3 separate regions of the Homo sapiens genome follow, and all the other regions are linked to region 3. Evidence: promoter capture Hi-C in 16 types of primary human blood cells and fetal thymus (Javierre and others, 2016). All regions are on one chromosome and are shown on one strand. Each heading gives the region's core, a stretch centred on a gene start or on the middle of the fragment in contact. The rest is flanking DNA. Distances are from core to core; before and after follow the strand shown. Region 1 holds the start of IL17C (interleukin 17C). Region 2 holds the start of ZFPM1 (zinc finger protein, FOG family member 1). Region 3 holds the start of ZNF778 (zinc finger protein 778).

What was found. Contacts are between HindIII fragments. The CHiCAGO score rates a contact against its expected background, and 5 or more counts as called.
Region 1: the fragment with the promoter of IL17C here is called in contact with a fragment that was not itself captured in region 3 in 3 of 17 cell types (M0 macrophages, total CD8 T cells and total B cells); the score reaches 6.4 in M0 macrophages.
Region 2: the fragment with the promoter of ZFPM1 here is called in contact with a fragment that was not itself captured in region 3 in 4 of 17 cell types (monocytes, fetal thymus, total B cells and 1 more); the score reaches 6.1 in monocytes.

Annotation. Positions count from the first base shown.
Region 1 is chr16:88,637,274-88,639,973 of GRCh38, reverse strand. It overlaps IL17C (interleukin 17C), which reads right to left and starts at 1,402. Exons shown (of 3, transcript NM_013278.4): 1 at 1,327-1,402; 2 at 665-993; 3 at 1-160. The coding sequence starts at 1,332. LOC124903755 (a long non-coding RNA gene) reads right to left here. Exons shown (of 2, transcript XR_007065181.1): 2 at 2,540-2,700. The HindIII fragment of the contact is 4,920 bases long and covers 1-2,680 here.
Region 2 is chr16:88,451,874-88,454,573 of GRCh38, reverse strand. It overlaps ZFPM1 (zinc finger protein, FOG family member 1), which reads right to left and starts at 1,294. Exons shown (of 10, transcript NM_153813.3): 1 at 896-1,294. The coding sequence starts at 935. RefSeq lists silencers at 290-359, 580-709, 1,170-1,259, 1,270-1,569. The HindIII fragment of the contact is 8,831 bases long and covers 1-2,700 here.
Region 3 is chr16:89,215,686-89,218,385 of GRCh38, reverse strand. ZNF778 (zinc finger protein 778) reads right to left here and starts at 683. Exons shown (of 7, transcript NM_001201407.2): 1 at 476-683. ZNF778-DT (ZNF778 divergent transcript) reads left to right here and starts at 733. Exons shown (of 1, transcript NR_186410.1): 1 at 733-2,700. RefSeq lists enhancers at 1-327, 852-901, 1,851-2,145. The HindIII fragment of the contact is 989 bases long and covers 763-1,751 here.

The DNA of each region.
Region 1 (2,700 bases), core at 153-2,652, 580 kb after region 3:
GCGGGAGCAGGGCCGGCGGCGCAGCACCAGCAGGCTCTGGAGCAGCCGCACGGAGTTGAGCGCAGCTGTCTCGCGGCCCGTCCGTGCATCGATACAGCCTCTGCACAGGCACTCGGCGAAGGCCAGCTTCTGTGGATAGCGGTCCTCATCCGTGTCCACACTGCGGGACGGGGTGCACAGTGAGTCTCTGGCCCTACCCTGTCCTCCTGGAGGCCCCTCTCCCCTCAGGGCCCCTCTCCGTGTACTCAGGATAGGACCTGAGGCAGCGAGGGCTGAGCCACACGGGCTTGGGGTGCAGTCGGGCTCACATGTGGTGGTAATCCACGTCTCCCCAGGGCCCTCCAAGAGCACAGAGCAGGGTCCGGAGGCCTCTAGGAGCCTCCCTTCCACTTCATCACCCAGCCCCACTTCTGCAGGAGCTCAGGTGACGGGCCCAGAATTTCCCCAGGGGACCCTGGCCACCTAGGACAGTGGGAGGCAGGGCACGGCCAGCCGCAAGCAGCAGCTCAGCCGTCCAGGTCAGGAGGGCCGGAGGGAGGGAGCTCAGGTGGCCACGCCCACTTGACAGGTGAGAACCACCAAGGCCCAGAGAGCTCTCCGGGCAGTCAGGGCCCCGCCAGGGGAGGGGCAGCCCCACGCCACAGCGGAATCCCCAGGTCCTCACCGGTATCTCCAGGGTGAGATGGAGCGCTGGTGGGTGTCTGCCTCCAACACCTCCTCCGGCCGCAGCACCGGGCACTGGGTCGTAGCTGAGGGCCTCTCGTGCCTCCCCCTGTGGCTTGCTGCCTCCAGGCTGGACACCAGGGCTACAGGCAAAGCCTGCCCCCACTTGGCACCTCGAGCCAGCAGGTGTGGGGGGGCCTGGCCGAGGGGCAGTTCCTCAGCCGAGTAGCAGTGTGGGGTACCGTGACTGTGGGGGTGCCCCCTGAGGGAGGGGTCATGGTGGGCCAGGCATGTGTGCAGCCAGGTCAGAAACAGGAGGCCGGGGAGGAGCTGGTGAAACAGGCAGGTGGGTGGTTAGGAGGTGCCCAGGGCAGGGGGCACCTCACTTCCACCTCAGCTTTCCTTGTTCCCAGCGGAAAGATGGAGTACAGCCCTCCCTCTATAGATGGGGAAACTGAAGCCCAGAGAGGCTAGCCCTTCAGCCCAAGACACCCAGCATGCCAGCGCTCCGAGGATCTGCAGCTGCCTCCCCTACCCCCAGACTGAGGGGTTTCCCAGACCCCATCCCAACACCCTCCTCCCAGGCTCAGAGAACCCCAGCCCTTCCATGCCAGGCTGCACATCCAAGCAGCATCCATCCGAGCGGCATGTGGAGAGGCTCACCGTCATGGTGGCGGCAGCGGGGCAGGCTGGGCTTGGAGCGGCCTGCACACCTGGCGGCAATCCCACAGGTGCACCTGGCCATGCACCTGGCAGCAGCCGCTCTTATACCTGAGGCCACACCTGGGGGAAATTCCGGCACCACTTCCTCCTCGGGAAGTGCCCAGCTGGGGCGCTTCTTCCTTCTCTGGTCCCCGCAGCCCCCGCCTGCTGTGCATCAGGACACAGACATGCAAGGAGGCCCCGGGAGGCGCTGTCCTGTTACCCCCCTCCCCCGAGAGAGACTCCGCCCAACCTGAGCACCTACACAGGGTGCTGCCTTGTCTGACATTCTCAAACTTTTTTTTTTTTTTTGAGACAGGGTCTTGCTGTCACCCGAGCTGGAGGGAAATGGTGCTGTCCCAGCTCACTGCAACCTCCACATCCCAGGTTCAAGCGATTCTCCTGCCTCAGGCTTCCGAGTAGCTGGGATTACAGGCACCCCCCACCATGCCTGGCTAATTTTTGTATTTTTAGTACAGACAGGGTTTTGCCATATCGGCCAGGCTGGTCTGAGGCTCCTGACCTCAAGTGATCTGCTCGCCTTGGCCTCCCAAAGTGCTGGGATTACAGGAGTGAGCCACTGCGCCCAGCCTTGAACCTCCTATAAGAGGGTTTCTGCTTGCGTATCCGTCAGCACCTTGCTGATTCAACTTGTAGGTTTTCATCTGGACCTGATGGTGGCGGGGCGCTTTTGCACCCTATACAGTTCTTCTCCGTCTGCTGCTGGTGGGTGCCAAGGGTGGTTCAGTGTTTTAGCTGAGATGGTCAAGATCAGGTGAGGCTCACGTGCCCCCTTCACCCAGGTGGGAGAGGTCCCGGAGATGGGGGAGGCAGGCACGTCTTCAGGTCTCTGTTGGGTTTCTGTGTTGTTTTTTTTTTTGTTGTTTTTTTGAGGCGGAGTCTGACTCTGTCGCCCAGGCGGGGAGTACAGTGGTGCGATCTCGGCTCACTACAAGCTCAGCTTCCTGGGTTCACGCCATTCTCCTGCCTCAGCCTGCCGGGTAGCTGGGACTACAGGCGCCCGCCACCACACCTGGCTAATTTTTTTGTATTTTTAGTAGAGACGGGGTTTCACCATGTTAGCCAGGATGGTCTCGATCTCCTGACCTCGTGATCTGCCCACCTCGGCCTCGCAAAGTGCTGGGATCACAGGCATGAGTCACTGCACCCGGCCTGGGCTTCTGTGGTTTTATTGAGAAAAAAGTTCAAGCTAAAAAGTCTGAGTTGGAGGTGTGAGGAGTGAGGTGTGAGGTGTGAATGAGGCATGAGGCGTGAGGCGTGAGGTGTGAGGTGTGACCAGCACACACAGGAAGCTTTATGTAAGCGGGGCCGGGA
Region 2 (2,700 bases), core at 45-2,544, 760 kb after region 3:
TGACCGGGCAGGGAGCCGGACCAGCGAGAAACTTAGTGGCGTGCAGGGGCGACCCCGGCCCGGGGCTGCGTCCTGGGAGGCCCTTCTCTGACTCAGAGCAGCCCATTGGGATGCCAGGGGGTGCCCGCGGGCATCCGAGGGCACCATTTGTTGCCCATGCCGCCTTGGCTGGGACACTTGCAGGGTCCAGGAGGTGTCACCAGGCTGGCGGGGCCTGGGTTCAGGACTTCAGCGCTAGGGCACGGGGTGGGGGTGTCTGGGGGGCTGGAGCCAAGTGCCTAGGCTGCGGCAGCTGCGCGCTACCCCCTCCCCTGTCCTGCGGCTCTGCGACGGCACCGGTGGGGGTGGGCGCGGGCCGGTGCCTGCCACTTGGCCAGGCATCTCCGCGGCCCCGGGTGTCCCCTCTGCCTCCCAGGTCTCTCTCTTCGCTTCTAGATACAAAGCCTGGGAGAGTCAACCGCGCGAGATAAGATCACAATTTCAGCCCGTCCCGACAGAACGATCTTATCAGGACGGGACTTGCAGAATGTAATATTTTAAACTTTATCTGAGCCCAGATCGGGGCCGCCCTATCGCCGCACCATCTCGCAGATGCGGGGGAGGGGCAGGCCGCGAGGGGCCGAGCTGCCCGGGCCGCGCCCCCAAACACCCTCCTCCCGGCCTCCGGGCGGCCCCCTCCTGGGCTGAACCCCCCGGTGCCCAAGCCGAGACGCGGGGGCCCAGGCCGCCGGCGGAGATTAGATTACGGCGCGCTTGGCACAGCGCGGGGGGCGCGGCGCGGGGTGAAGGTCGCCGGCGCCCAGGGCAGAGCGGGGACGGGCGGGGGCGGCGCTGGCGGCTGGGCTCCGGCGGGGGTCGGGCGCGCGGAGGGGACCGCGGGCAAAGTTTGACTCACGCTTGATCTGCCGGGGGTTGCTCTGTTTCCGCCTGGACATGTCTCCGGCGCCGCGCGCCCTCCCGGCGGCCGCCTCTAGCCCCGGGCGGGCGGCGGCGGGCGGCGGGGGCGCGGCGGGGCCGCGGGGCCGCTCATGCCCCCGGCCCCCGGTCTCCGCGGCCGCCCCGGCCCGCGCCCCCAGCCCGCGCGCCCAGCCCCGGAGCCGCTGGAGCTGCCGCGGAGGCCCGAGAGGCCACGGTCCTGCGTTGCGGGCGCGCGGACTGCCCGACGGGCGGGTGCCGGCTCCTCCGCTCCCGCGCACTCGCCGCCGCCGCCGCGGCCGCTCGGCTTTTCTCAATGGAACCCGCGGGCGGCGAGCGGCGGAGCAGGCGGCCACTGCGAGGGCGCTCCTGGCGGGCTGGAGGCACGGGGCGGGGCCGGGCCTGAGCGTCGTCGGCCGCCGCACCTCCCGCCCCGCCCCCGGCGCTCCGGCCCCGCCCCGTGCCTCCTGCCGGGCCCTGCACCTCTCCGGCTCCGCCCCCAGCGCCGCGGCCACGCCCCCGCCAGCCCGGCTCTTCGTTGCTCTGGCTCCGCCCCCAGAGCCGCGACCGCGCCCCCGCCCGCCTCGCTCTTTACGGCGCTGGCTCCGACCCCAGCGCTGCGGCCCCGCCCCTGTCCGTCTGGGCCTTCAAGGCACTGTCCCCGCCCCGCTCGATGCCCCGCCCCTTCCTGGTTCGGCCCCGCCCGCGCCCCGGGGAGACCTCTAGCCTCCCCCACTCCTCTTTGGCCCGGAGGTCATGTCCCCAGGCCGCGCTGGGAGTCTGAGACCTATTCGGTTCTGTTCTGCTGCCCCGCGGCACCGCATCCTGCGCCCCGCCTCTCGGCGCCAGCTCCGCCTCCAAACCTGACCCGACCTGGTTGGGTCCTGAGACGCCGAGGCTCCGCCCCCGCACTGTAACTCCGCCCCCAGCCCTTGGTCCCTCCCTAGACCCCTGGGCTCTGCCGCACGCTCCACGTGCGCGGTGGGGGCAGTGACAACCGGCTCAGGAAGCCCGAGGCCTTGACGCCCACGTTTCTCTTGGGCCAGACTTGGGGTGTGGAGCGGATTCGGGCCAGGGAGGGGGCTTCCGTCCCAGACTGCGGTGGGGTCCGCCAACTGAGAGCAGGATCTCGGGTCTTCCCCTGTGAGCTCAGACCAGGCTGGAAATCGAGGAGGGGGCGCGGGAGCCGGCAGCCCTGGGCGTTGCCACTTGGGGCCTCTTTCCTCACCGAGCCTCTCCAGGGCGCCCCGCAGGAGACCCACGAAGGAGTTGCCCACAGCGCCCGGGCCACAGCCCCCTCTCGGAGCAGTCAGAGGTCAGCGAGGTTTGTGGGCGCGGTGCTGTCAGCTCAGGCCTGGAAATGGAGAACTGTTGCCCTCTGGGGTGTGTTCAAGAGCCCCACTTCACGGAGGCTCGGGGACTTGCTCAAGGTCACGCATTGGGGGGCTGTCCCCCACTCCCAGCTGAGTTGTATCATCTCCTTTTAATGTTCTCGGTCTACACTTGCTACCTGCTCCCCCATCCCCCGTACTCATAAGAAACGGGCGTCAGTGGGCCCAGGGGCAGACAGGAAGGACCCCTCCCACCTGATGATGAGATCATCGCACAGCAGGACTGTCACACCACCCGCCAGCCTGCTGGGAGCTCCTAAGACCCCATCTCGTGCCAACTTCTGTGACCTATTCCCTGGCTCCAAGGAAGGGGAGAAGTGGGGGCTTACCCTCAGAGCCTGGTACAGGAGAGTGGCGGGTGGGTAGGAGAGGCAGGGGTACAACACTGGATATG
Region 3 (2,700 bases), core at 8-2,507:
TTACTTACACTCAAATAATAATTCACCGTAAGGTTTATTTATTGGGGGAGAGAGAAAACATGGCCCAAAGCTAAAAAGGAGTAAAACGATTGCAGTGGATATTCCTTGTAGCAGATGTTCACATTTTTATTAGATTCAGATTTTCTAAAGCAAAACGTGAGAAAAAATACAGTTAGTCGAAACACACTGTTCACCGTGGATTCGATTACTCCAAGACCAGCGGGACAACGGCCGCATCCCTCCCGCCCCGAGGGCCGGGCCTGGAAGTCCCGGCGGCGAGGGACGCGCGCTCCCGCTGGCCCCCACGGGCTAACTTTCACAGGGAGCTGCACGCCCGGGGCGCTCAGGGGTCTACCTTACGCTTCGGTCCCAACACAATGTGCCAGAAACAAATAAAAAACGTCAAAGCCGAAGCCAGATTCTCACAGAAACACGCCCTGTTCAAAGTGAAGGAAGCAAAGGGCCCCTCTCTCACCAGCTCCGCGGAATGGAAGCGCTGCCCGGGTCTACCGCGAGCGGCGGCGACTTTCCCTTCTGGAAGCGGTGCCGGGGGCGCAAGGCGCGAGGCAGGCGGGCGGGCGCCCACTCCCGGACCAGCTTCCCCGCGGACAGCCCGAGGACACGCGCGGAACTCTCCGGCGCCAGCACGCACCGCCGCAAGAACCGGATCAGCTGTAAGACAGGCGGAGGCGGGGCCGGCGCCGGAAGAGGGGCCGGCGCGTCTTTGGCGTCACTTCCGCCTCCAGCCTCCGGGCCGAAGCTTTGGCCTATGGTGCGGGGAGGTAGTAGTTTCTTCCGCGAGGGTGCGGGAGGGCCCCGGGGCGCCCTTGGGAACCGGGCTGGAGGCAGAGACAGGCCCGGAGGACCAGGCGGACGTAAGGATCAGGCCTCTGGACGCAACTGCGGAGCCGGAACAGACCAGGAGGGCGCGGTTGGGCGGGTACAGCCAGGAAGTGCTCGTCGCGAGCGCGGCCCGCGGTTCGGTCACAGCGAGAAGCCCGCGGGTGCTGGGAGTGCTCGGTCTTCTCTCGATCTCTGCAGGGAGTCACTGGCCCCGTTCCTTTTTATCTGTCTGAACATCACGCCGAACTTTTAACAGTTGATTCCACTGCATTTTCAATGTGGTATTTTTTTTTTCTGTAAATGTTCATCTATTTTTCGCTTCAAATATGCGTTTCTGTTACTTTTCTAATGTACCGTAGGAGCCAAGACCACCTATACTACGTTGCAAAATAGCACTGATACCAGGGGTTCTCCCAAGGTTCATTCAGAAATGTCACATGATTCCAGTAACAATACGAAAAGGTTTTTTTTTTGGAACCAGGCATATTGATCCTGGAGTTCACATGGAGGAACAAATGTCTCATAACGCAGACGACGCGGACAAACAAAAGCGCAATGCCCGACAGATGCGAAAACAGCCTCTGTCATTAAAACTGTGTGCTAGTGACACATGAACAGGAAACAAATGGAATATCCAGACATCAACCCAGTAACATGGAAATTTGGTTCATAAACATAATTTCAGAGCGGTGGAACAAACATGCAGTTTATAATGAAAGGTGCTAAGACAAATGGTTAGCCGTCTGAGAAATGATGAAATTAATTCTGGATCTCACAGGGATAAACTCCAAACGGATCAGGAGTCTAAATGTGAAAAACAAAACAAAACCACATGTGAAGTGTTCACGTGATTTCGTGGCTGATTAAGAAACAAGATGTGCCCAGGAGGTGGCGGTGGCGCACAAGCTTTGACAGGTTGGAGGGTGAGGGAGTCTCACGCACCATGAGATTACCCACAGGCTTCGAATTGGGGGTCACTACTCAGAAAAGAGAAAAAAATGAGCGTGGGCGGGGGGCGCGCAGAGAACTCCCAGAGAAGAAGGAGATCAGACAGGGGGAGGGCTGACGTGACTAGATCACGTTTCTCAGCAGCCTGACAGGTGTCTGAGTCACAAAGCTCTGAAGGGCAGCAACGGCTTGCAGTCTTTAGAGCCCCAGGATTTATCTTATCTATGGCTAGCAGAGATTGGACACAATTTCACGAAGTATACAAAGCAACCACATGCTAAATGGTTCAACACTATGAGTGTTTGGGATGTGTTTTATTTATTATTTATTAATTTTGATACGGAGTCTCCCTCTGTCGTCCAGGCTGGAGTGCAGTGGCACGATCTTGGCTCACTGCAACCTCCGCCTCCCAGGTTCCAGCTATTCTCCTGCCTCAGCCTCCCAAGTAGCTGGGATTACAGGTGCCCACCTTGTAATTTTTAGTAGAGACGGAGTTTCACCATGTTGGCCAGGCTGGTCTCAAACTTCTCACTTCAGGTGATCCACCCGCCTCGGCCTCCCAAAGTGGTGGGATTACAGACGTGAGCCACTGCAGCCACCGTGCCTGCCCTTGGGATATGTTTTTTTTTCTTTTAATTTTGTTTTGTTTTGTTTTTTTGAGACGAAGTCTTGCTCTGTCGACCAGGCTGGAGTGCAGGGGCACAATCTTGGCTCACCGCAACCTCCGCCTCCCAGGTTCAAGCGATTCTCCTGCCTCAGCCTCCAGAGTAGCTGGGATTACAGGCACGTGCCACCAAGCCCAGCTAATTTTTGTATTTTTAGTAGAGATGGGGTTTCACCATGTTAGCCAGGATGGTATCTATCTCTTGACCTCGTGATCCTCCTGCCTCAGCCTCCCAGACTGCTGAG